Linked DNA regions of Homo sapiens: regions 1 and 3 are each linked to region 2. The links are contacts of gene promoters, found by promoter capture Hi-C in blood cells and fetal thymus (Javierre and others, 2016). All regions are on one chromosome and are shown on one strand. The core of a region is centred on a gene start or on the middle of the fragment in contact, and the rest is flanking DNA. Distances in the headings are between cores, read along the strand shown.

What was found. The method cuts DNA at HindIII sites, captures the fragments that hold promoters and counts their contacts. A CHiCAGO score of 5 or more calls a contact.
Region 1: a contact is called between the fragment with the promoter of AK9 here and the fragment with the promoter of GTF3C6 in region 2, in 1 of 17 cell types (total CD4 T cells). The highest score is 5.9, in total CD4 T cells.
Region 3: a contact is called between the fragment with the promoter of SESN1 here and the fragment with the promoter of GTF3C6 in region 2, in 1 of 17 cell types (activated CD4 T cells). The highest score is 6.0, in activated CD4 T cells.

The regions. Positions count from the first base shown.
Region 1 is chr6:109,689,200-109,692,750 of GRCh38, reverse strand. It overlaps AK9 (adenylate kinase 9), which reads left to right and starts at 1,549. Exons shown (of 41, transcript NM_001145128.3): 1 at 1,549-1,604. FIG4 (FIG4 phosphoinositide 5-phosphatase) reads right to left here and starts at 1,455. Exons shown (of 23, transcript NM_014845.6): 1 at 1,250-1,455. The coding sequence starts at 1,315. RefSeq lists an enhancer at 1,502-1,971. The HindIII fragment of the contact is 5,228 bases long and covers 1-3,551 here.
Region 2 is chr6:110,956,375-110,960,108 of GRCh38, reverse strand. It overlaps GTF3C6 (general transcription factor IIIC subunit 6), which reads right to left and starts at 1,403. Exons shown (of 6, transcript NM_138408.4): 1 at 1,283-1,403; 2 at 857-937. The coding sequence starts at 1,339. RefSeq lists an enhancer at 1,081-1,530. The HindIII fragment of the contact is 8,604 bases long and covers 1-3,061 here.
Region 3 is chr6:109,093,215-109,096,554 of GRCh38, reverse strand. SESN1 (sestrin 1) reads left to right here and starts at 1,709. Exons shown (of 10, transcript NM_014454.3): 1 at 1,709-2,760. The coding sequence starts at 2,482. CEP57L1 (centrosomal protein 57 like 1) reads right to left here and starts at 1,048. Exons shown (of 11, transcript NM_001271852.3): 1 at 980-1,048. RefSeq lists enhancers at 1,062-1,321, 2,192-2,341 and a silencer at 1,382-2,081. The HindIII fragment of the contact is 3,523 bases long and covers 1,373-3,340 here.

The sequences.
Region 1 (3,551 bases), core at 300-2,799, 1.3 Mb after region 2:
CACTCCGGCCTGGGTGACAGAGCAAGACTCTGTCTCAAAGGGAAAAAAAAAAAAGTTATTTATGTTTCTAATGAGGGAAATTTAGCAGCATATTTTACAGAAAATAGGTTTCATTTCAATGACAAATGATACTTCTTTATGGGTCTCATTAGAGAACTGAAAATACTTGCAAATACAGTATATTTGATAATGTCATTTTCTGCTCTAGATCTAATCAAAGTTGTCAGCAAAATTAATTTAAGGTCCACAATTCTCTACTCATGTTAACCTGAGGGAGAGGTTATTGTGCTATTAGGACTACGTTATAACTGAGAAACTGTTAAATGCCTTCTCATACTCCTCTAATGGAGACAACCCAAGTTTCAGAGAAACAGTTTATAAAGCACTCTATAACATAGTGAAGAGCATTATGAAAATATCTGGCATATGCAATCTTGTTAGCATGAAATGGGTAATATTAAACACAGTCCCTAATATCACTGTGGCACCCCAATTTAGAAGAGCTATACTGTACCAACTTTGCTTTCCACCCACAGAAAGGACCAAGTATGAAGTTATATAAACACCATTCTCCCTTAATTGAGGAACTGGTAATCGAAATACAAACTGATCTGCTTATTCACTATTTACATGGCCATTCAAAGTAATAAAATTTTAAAAGTAAATGTTATGTTGAAAAAAGTCAAGTGAAAAGCAAGATGTTATCCAAACAAATTATCTGTCTTTAAACAAAGTAAGTTTTCCTTTCCTTTCAAATAAGAAAAAAAGAGAACCAAAAAGTTCACCAATAGAAGTGTAATTCACATGAATCGCAGTGATGGTATACCATGGAATAGGAAAAAATAAGTTACAAGTCATAGTTCAAATTTTTTTCATACCCCTGCCTGTACTGTAACTTGTGAACTCTAGAACTTTAACAGACTTTCTGAAAGCTGAAAAGAATCCAGTAACTCGTACAGAGAACCTCATGAACAGTTCCTGAGGTACCACAAGCACCTGTTTCCAGCGTGTTCCAGCCATGGCTTGTAAGTGGACCTGCAAATGCTGCAATGTCCAGGGTACCAAAATAGGGGAAAGGCGCCCAGGCACAGCTCAAGGGAGCTAGCTTACCCCAAGGCTGTGTTTGACAGGGATTTGGGAACTGGAGAGGAAGGAGGAGGAGGCAGAGTACAGCCTCTGTCCTACGGCCCCACACCCACCGGCAGACATCCATCCTCCCGCCTGCGCCCCGCCGCGAGGGGGTACTCACAGCTCTAGTCTCATACAGAACCAGCTTCTGGACCGAGCTGATGATGGGGGCGGCGGCCGTGGGCATGGCGGCGGCAAATGGGGGCCCCACAACAGGGCACGAGCCTCCGGACCGCCCCAGGAGACTCGGCGAGAAAACCCCTCAGGCCCTGGACATCAAGTCCAGCCAGGAACAACACCCATTAGGCACTAAACCTATAGATGATCAGGTGTTTCCGGATCCCTGCGCCCCGCCTCCAGGCAAGCCCCGCCCCTCACGTCGGGAGCGGGGCTGGAGGACGTATCATAGAGAGGTCGGGTAGAGGCTCCCGGGACCTGCGTGCTGCCGAGAGAGGAAGCGAAGGGCACCATCTTTGGTAAGGATTGGAGGAAAACATGGGCGGAGAAAAAGTCGACGGATTAATTGAGTCTATTTATCTCCTCCCTCTCTTTGGAAAAAAGCGGAAGGTTTGGGATTGGGTAGCTTCTTTTGAAAAGGGTTCTCCGAGTTGCAGGATAGATCCTTGTGTTTTCCCTGCCTGCTGCGGCCCATTTTCCTGGAAGCCGGCCCTCTGACGGTCCTTCACTGAGTGTCAGTTTTCCCCTCACCTCTAATCCATGTTGTACCTACGCTGTGTGGCCCAAGAAATTGTTTTAAAATCACCTAAAGCTGGAAAGTGTGGCTTTGCCACACGTTTGTGCGTGAGGCTAGCCACTTGAAGTTGTCGACAGAGACTAGCGCAGTGTGGCGGAGCCGCGCTTGAAATGAGGTTTCTTCATTTCATGTGTGCGACATAAATGGGCATGCGCGTACCCTCTCTTCCATAGTTGTGAAAATGAGTGTATTATAATTATAAATGCCAAATTAGGTACAAAAGTGACTATTTCGAATTGGAAAAGAAATGACAAAGAACTACAGCCCCGCCTCTCGAGGCCCCGCCCCACCAAGCAGCAGGTGCGTGGCGGCCAGAGGTCTCCCCGGCAACCGCCCGACAGCCCCGCGGAGTCCCTGGAGGCAGTTGCTTCCCTGAGGAGGGTCCGGCTGCGGCCAGGTAAGGAGCCTTCCGGCGGCCCGCTGGGTCGTGGTCCGCCCTGGAGGCATCTTGGTATCTGTTGCACGGAACCCCGCCTCCTGCGGGGACCCCCAGACCAGCTTCTTTTCTTGCAAAACGGTCTCTTTGTAAATCCACTTTTTAAAACCACGTCTCCTTTCAACGACTGAAGTATTTATTCCACAAATATTTACTGAACACCTACTGCAAGAGTATAAGATGTAGGGGAGAGGCAGCTATCCTATCTTAGGCGGCAATTCTAGGTTTCCCAGGAAACCTCTAAACCTCAGAAACCTCTGCTAGAGGGCTTCTCAACTGCTAAGTGTAAGGAAACTTTAAAAAAAAATTATAGAATTATAGCATACCCAGATAACATTCATGTAATACCAAAGATCATATTGTAAATTAAAATTTGAGAAATTACAAAAATTGTAAAGAAATACTTAAGTCTATGTTATTTTGCGCTTCTTTCCCCCTGTAGTTTGGTACTCCTTTTATTAAGAACTAGAAGGATGGCCGTGTCCGTTCTGGCATTTTGGACTTGGATCTTTTAACTGGGAAAAATAGTTAGCTGTGTTCTGTTTCATAATGAAACCAACTCTTCTGAATATTAGTTAAATGTTTGCACAGTGTTTTTATCTAGGATAGCAACTCTTAAAATACCTGAAGGATTCTAGTTTTCAATTATTATAGTTTAGCACTTCCATTTTAACTTTATCTTAGTTTATTTCACCCGGAATCAGATCCTAAGACAAAACTTTGAAGGCAGGTTGTTTATATGAGACGTAATCCCAGGAAACAGCAGCAGGGAGGGGAAGAAAACTAATAAAGGAAATATTACCAGAGAAATTTCTCTGTGGGCTGAATTCACTAGGGAATACTGGGAGGCATGTCTCAGTTATCCCCTCTTGAGGGGCAAGGAAGCTGGAGTATTTATTCGCCAACTTCCATCAGTTATTGGATGAAGCCTGATAGGGCAGAACATTGATGCCCTAGAACTTCCAGTCTACCCTGTGTTCAGGGAGAGTAGGTTCTGGCAGCCAGAGAAAGCCCTTAGGCAAAAAGTCGCACATGCTAACATTTTGGAAGTTGGGCTGGTCGTGCATAGAAAAGGTGTATGTCAAGTGGATATGGGGGAGGCACTAATAGCAGCTGCTACATTCCACCCTTTGCAGCACTCGTATCCATTCTTCCTCCACATCAAGTTCACACCATGCCACCCTAATTCTTTAAGGTAGTGGCTAGTCTCAATTTTTAAAAGAAAAGGACTTA
Region 2 (3,734 bases), core at 154-2,653:
CAGTGTCTAGCTCTGTCACCCAGGCTGGAATGCAGTGGCATGATCATGTTCAGGCAATCCTCCCACCTCAGCCTCCTGAGCAGCAGGGACCACAGGCGCATGCCACCATCCCCAGCTAATTTATTATTATTATTATTTTTTTTTTTTATTGAGATGGAGTTTTGCCCTTTGTTGCCCAGGCTGGAGTACAGTGGCGCGATCTCGGCTCACTGCAACCTCTGCCTCCAGGGATCACGCGATTCTCCTGTCTCGGCCTCCCGAGTAGCTGGGATTACAGGCGCCCACCACCATGCCTGGCTAATTTTTGTATTTCAGTAGAGACGGGGTTACACCATGTTGGCCAGGCTGGTCTCGAACTCCTGGGCTCGTGATCTACCCGCCTCGGCCTCCCAGTATTGGGATTACAGGCGTGAGCCACCGCGCCTGGCCATTTTTTTTTATTATTATTTTAGAGAAGGGGTCTCGTTATGTTGCCTAGGATGGTCTCCAATTCCTGGGCTCAAGTGATCCTCCCACCTCTGCCTCCCAAAGTGCTGAGAATACAGGAATATATGTACGGTTCCATATCACAATGTTACTTCCTCCAAATCTGTAACTTTCTCTTCAGCCACACATTCAAACAGGCAAGCAAAGTTAGCCATTTTCTCCTATCTGCTCCCATAGTCCCCGCTGTACTTCTACATTATACTTAATTACATATTAATTAATTATACTTAGTATACTTCTTATCCTTAGAGTTCACTACTTTGTAAGGTGAAATAAATATATCAATACTTGCGGATAGGTATTTCACCATTGATTCTTGTTTTACATTTAAGACACTCTAGAACAATCCCCCCAAGTCTAGAAAACTCACCAAAACCTTGCATTTATTTTCACATTTTGAGAGGAAGTCTGAATCAATAATTCCTGATAATTCCACCAGAACCAACTGCTCCTGGTGAAAGAAAGAGGGGTTAACATGCTAGCACGCGAGCGGCCAAGAGGGAGCAATTAGCAAAAGAAGCCAAATTTCCCACATTTGTGAAAACCGGACCCTGTTTTCAGCAAGAGGAAACTACGCTACCTAAGGTAACTTCCCGGTACTTCCCATCCCAAGTACGGGGTGACGATTAGGGCTAAGGTCCCAAGCTGCCCGGCTCCTCGCGCCCAGGAGCAAGAAGCCGGTGAGGAGCAGTGGGGCCTCCCTCCGGCCCGCAGCTCCCCAACTCCCTTCCCCACACACAGCCAGCACAGGCATCACCGCCACTGCGGTGCAGGCTTTTGGCGTAGCGCTTACTACCTCCTCTTCCTCGTCTTCTCCGTCCTCTGGACTCCGCTCGTCCGCCGCCGCCGCCATGGTCCCGCGGCGCCTCGCCTTCTAGTCACTGGCCACGCCCGCCCGGAGCCGCCATCTTGAGTACGGGCTTCAGCTCCGAGGCGAAGCAGCTTATTGGGTTCCTGCCGCTCCGCTCCTCGCCGCGCAAATTGCTTCTGCCAGAACTCGAGATGTCGGCTTCCGGCGGGCGGGTGGCTACGGGCGCCGAGAGCGCCGGTACCCACGTGGAGACTCGCCACGGGCCTCCTCGTTTCTCGGTGCCTCAGAGCAGGGGCTGGGGGTGGGCTGCCGTAGGCAGCGGAGCCCGCTCGGTCACGCAAGAGTCGCCGGGCTCTCGGCCCCGCTGGCGGGGAGGACTGGCAAGGCAGAAGGGATAAAGGCGAAAACAAGGAAACCATGGTTTCAGGCGGATCATGGACAGAAAGGCCTTGTGTTTGACCCGAGCACATTTCTTGGAAAGAAATTCTTAATATTGTGTGAGCGCTCATCCTCAATTCAACGTACCCCAAGCCAAGTTAAAGGCACATTCAGTTTAATACTAATGAGCGCCTACACAGTAAAAAGCACTGCACCAGGAGCTATGAAAAATAGAAAGTGGGCTTAAGTTTCAGGCCTGCAGGAGCATAAGATCTGTGAGAGGTACATAAATGGATCCAAGCAAGTGCTGTAAGAGATACACATTGTTATAGGAACACAGAGACCTGGGCAAGAGAAGTTTGAACAGAATTTTCAGAAGTATCCCATAGATGTTTGTGATTGTGAAAGAAACGGTCTTCGTACTTGCGATAGCGTGATCTAGTGGTTAAGATCGTGAGTTTTGGATTTTTATTTATTTATTTATTTGGAGATGGAGTTTTGCTCTTGTTACCCAGGCTGGAGTGCAATGGTGCAATCTCGGCTCACTGCAGCCTCCACCTCCCGGGTTCAAGCGATTCTCCTGCCTCAGCCTCCCGAGTAGCTGGGATTATAGGCATGCGCCACCACGCCCGGCGAATTCTGTTATTTTTAGTAGAGACGGGGTTTCTCCATGTTGGTCAGGCTGGTCTCGAACTCCCGACCTCAGGCGATCCCCCTGCCTGGGCCTCCCAAAATGCTGGGATTACAGGTGTGAGCCACCGTCCCCAGCCTGAGCTTTGGATTTTAATACCAGTCAAGTTCTGCTGCATTATTAACAGCAAGGCTTTGGGCAGATTGGTGGTTGTGAGGATTAAATGAGACAATACATATAAAATAAATTTAGCCCAGTATTCAGCACATAGTAAGCATTTAAAGTGCATTTAATCTATTATTAGTAGTAATATATAAATTTTTTAGTATGATGCTCTTTCTCTCTTTCTTTTATTCATTGTTTGTTTCTTTCTTTCTCTCTTTCTTTCCTTTCTTTTTTGTGACAGGGTCTGGCTCTGTCGCCCAGCCTGGAGTGCAGTGGCGCCATCGTAGCTCCCTGTACCCTCAAACTCCTGGGCTCAAAGGGAGCCTCCTACCTCTGCTTCCTGAGTAACTGGGACTACAGGTGCACGCCACAGCGCCTGTCTTTACATAATGGTTGTATGAGTGTGCCATAACTTGATCCTCTATTTTTTAACACATAGGTTATTTACAATTTGTGGATATTGTAAATAACACTCTTTTGTGTATATTTTTGTCCAGTTGCCTAATTAAATGTATAGGATTTCATAGCTTAAAAAAGTAGAAGGAACACTGGACCTGTTAGAAGTACATTTCAATTCTAGCTCTGAAGCTTAATAATTGTGAAGTTTTCCAACCTCAGTTTTCTTATTTATTATATGAGGATGAAAATAATTATACTTAACACCGGGTGCGGTGTCTCAAGCCTGTAATCCCAGCACTTTAGGATGCTGAGGCGGGCGGATCACAAGGTCAGGAGATTGAGACCATTCTGGCTAACACGATGAAACCCTGTCCCTACTAAAAACACAAAAAAATTAGCTGGGCATGGTGGTGTGCACCTGTAGTCCCAGCTACTCCGGAGGCTGAGGCAGGAGAATGGCGTGAACCCGGGAGGCGGAGCTTGCAGTGAGCCAAGATTGTGCCACTGCACTCCAGCCTGGCCGACAGAGCAAGACTCCGTCTCAAAAAATAATAATAATACTTACTGTGTCTTTTTTGCTTGGAAAGCAAAAATTCAATCGTATATCTAAAAATACTTGGTAAACTGAAAAATTACATAAATTGTCAGATTTTGAGGGAGATGTGGGGAGAGTAAGGAGGAGTGGATAATCCAAGCTGAGGGAACAGCAGAAACAAAGGCTTGAGGAATGAAAATATGTGTGTTTTGAAAGGTTAGTGTGTTATAACTCAAGATGTCCCTTTAAAATAAACAAGCCTCATACTTCTAGCAAAAGTTATTGTTTGGTATTTATGAAGTAATTATTTTTATTTACTTTTAATGATT
Region 3 (3,340 bases), core at 460-2,959, 1.9 Mb after region 2:
CCGTCCCACCCCACACCGCCAAGTATGCATGATTTGGCTTACTGACGTTTCCTGAAAGTACCCTATCTCTCACTCTGGGCCTTAGCATATGCTGTTCTTTTGGTCTTCATTTCCCCTGGGATGAAGATTTCCCTGACTTTCCAAGATTGGGCTAAGTCATCTCCTTCTAGACATCCCAGTGATATCATGTATTATTGTAACCGTATGTCTAACAACTAGTTCCTCTAACTAGTAAGACTGTCTTTTTCATTGTTGTATACTCAGTGCCTAGCAAGACGAAATTTTTAGAATTTAGTGCAATGCAATTCTGCAATGTAAAGAATTAAAATCTACACCGATTATCAGTCCACTGATGGCCGTTCAAACCTCGACTTTTCTCAAATAATAACTTTTTAAAAGCAAACTAATTTTAAGCAAATGACTGAATCTTTTGAAAAAGTCGACTAAGTTTTGGAGACTTTTACGGTTTTGCTTTCTTTTTCCTGCTGTATCCTTAAAGCCTGCAAGAATTCCTATCTAGGAATACTGGGGATTCTTTTACGAGATGGATTTGACAACTTGCTTTCAAAGCCCTGCCTAGGATTTCATTTGACTGAGCAAATAAAGCCCAGAACATCCCTAAGCAAAGGCAAACAAAGGTGCAAATGCGCGGAGATCCCAAATCCACCCCGCGTGTGTCCACAAAAAAGGGCGGAATCAGAGGCAGCAGCGCGAAGCTCCAGTTTCCACAGCATCCTTCCTTCTTGGCCTTACTTAGGCCGCTCCCTGCGACCCTTGGGATCAGGATCCCAAATCCTTGCCTCACCCACCACACCCCGCGCTTGGGCAGCTGGACTAGTCCTTCCCACGCAAGTCACTGGAAAAAGTCCTTGGACTAAGGGAGGCCACCCTAGATGGCTTTGTCTCCAAAATCCCAGAGGAAATGGAGGAAGGAAAAACCCTGTCAAGGAAAGGTGACAACCCAGCTTACAGTGCTTACCAAGCAGACGCTCTCAGTCAGCCCCTGCCACCGCTAACCGTTGGTTCGCGGGCACCCACAGGCAACGTCGCGGTGGCCCCTGGGGGTTGTAGTTTCTGTCGCAAACAAAACGCGCCGGCAGCATCGAAACTACATTCCCCACAAGTCAACGCGAAGACGTCCTACCGACTTAAATCTGGGGTTTGGAGTAATGAAGAGGCCGTCACTACTTTTAGGGTGATCTTAAATGTAGACTCAATTTCTTCCAGGAGTCCCTTCGCGCCCTCTTTCTTTGTCGTGCTTGTTTTATGTGTGACGAAGTCTCAGTGTACTTCTACGTCTTACTTTTTCCTTCCCCTTCTCCAGGACAGAGTCCAAACGTCCGGGAACGGAAACCGCCTCAGGGCGCAAGCTTAGCGCCTCCGGGGGCGCTTGGCCCAGTTCGCAGTCACGCATGCGTAGCAGCCGGCAGTGGCTGGCAGCCGCGCGCGGCGCACTTGGGGTCCGGAGGGTAGCCTGCCAGAGGGCGGGGCTTTTTCCTAAGGCTTTGCCTCGGCGGGTCGCGTCTGCCTGGGCGGGGAAGAAGGCGCTGGGGCCGGGGCGGCTCCCGGTTTGTGCCGGGCGGAGAAAGGGGAGGGGCTGGGGGTGAGGACCCCGTCTCCACTCCCTGCTCCCGCCCTCTGGGCTGATCCCCACCGATGGGGCTGGGCGAAGGGCGGGCTTTGCGCCTCGGGCCCCGCCGCCCCGCCAGCTCCGCGGCCCAGCCTGGCGCTCGAGGATTGCCAGGGCCGCCCTGTGCCCTCTGGCTCGGCGGTGGTGGGCGAGGGCTCAGGGATCGGAGAAGTAGCGTCTTCCCGGGGGTGCCGAATTGGCGGGGCTGGGGGACGCTTTTTTTCACCGCCGCCCGCCGAGACTACGGCTGCCCGAGACTGCCGCCCTCCGACAGCGCCCAAGCCTCCGGCCGCTGCGGCCAGTGGGCCAGGGTTCGGCGAGCCTTCCCTGCCGGCGCCGGCCGGCTGCTGAGGCGCTGGGAGGAGCTGCGGAGGGCGGGGACTGGTGTCGGAGAAGGGGCGGGGTGGGAACGCCGGAGAGAACCCGGTGGCTGCACAGACAAAAAAGCCCCGAATGGCTGGAGGGCGTTCAGCTGTTAACAGCCTTTTGGGGCAGAGCACGGATTTGACAGCTCCACAACGTGAGGATATCCACTGACCCCGCGAGACGGAGGAGAACGCTTCCCCGAAATTCTCTGCCCACCAAAGCCAGCGCTGCAAGGTTGCAACTTTCAAACTTTGTTTTTCCAGAAAGAAGACTGCCCTTTCGTGTACAAGGAGAGGGTGAGAGGGTGACCTAGCTTGTAGATCGGCTGAAGGCACCAGTGGTTCCAAATGTCACCCAGATGTGTGTTTTCATGACGATTTGATTTCTCTGATTTTATTTTTACATTTTTCATTTTAAAAATACAAAGCAATTTTTTTGGGGCATGCTGAAAGGTAACTGAAGACCGCAAAGGAAAAACTATTGTCATGGCTGAAGGAGAGAATGAAGTGAGATGGGATGGACTCTGCAGCAGAGATTCAACTACTAGGGAGACAGCATTGGAAAACATTAGGCAAACCATTTTGAGGAAAACCGAGTATCTTCGTTCGGTGAAAGAAACACCTCATCGTCCATCAGACGGGCTTTCAAATACCGAGTCTTCGGATGGGTTGAATAAGCTACTTGCTCATCTGCTTATGCTTTCTAAGAGGTGTCCCTTCAAAGATGTGAGAGAGAAAAGTGAGTTTATTCTGAAGAGCATCCAGGTAAGGAAGAGCATTTTAAATACAACTATGTCTCTACTACAGTTAAATTTTACTTGCCGTTATTCACGTTGTGTTTGTTTCTATTAGGTTGTTATGTAAACTTTTATTATGAGTTTACATCTTTAGAGTGTTCTGTAAGTAAACAAGTAGTGTTTTTCTAGAGTTTTAGGCAGAAACTGCTTTGCTCCTGGAAGAATATATGAAAACTACAGTTAATTCCAAGTAAATACTTGTTTTTCCTTATATTTCTTTTTACATGTTGTTGGAAAATGTAGCCAGTGTTTTTTTTTCACATTGTCACAGTGTTCTGAGTGTAAAGGCTCACATTTAAAAGCCTCTAAAATGATAAAGGATATTAAATGTTTCCTAGTCAGCCTGTTCAAGATAATTGGTGGAACAATTTTCTCTTATTTTTAAAAACAAAACAAACCAGGATGTGTTCTCTAAATGCAACCTCTCTTTTTTCAAGAAGAGAATTATATAAAATAATAAAAACCTATCTTAAAAGAAGCTAATATCTTCATGTTGAAAAGGTGGACCCAGGTGGGGTATTTGATAGAAACACTTTTATGGCAAATTG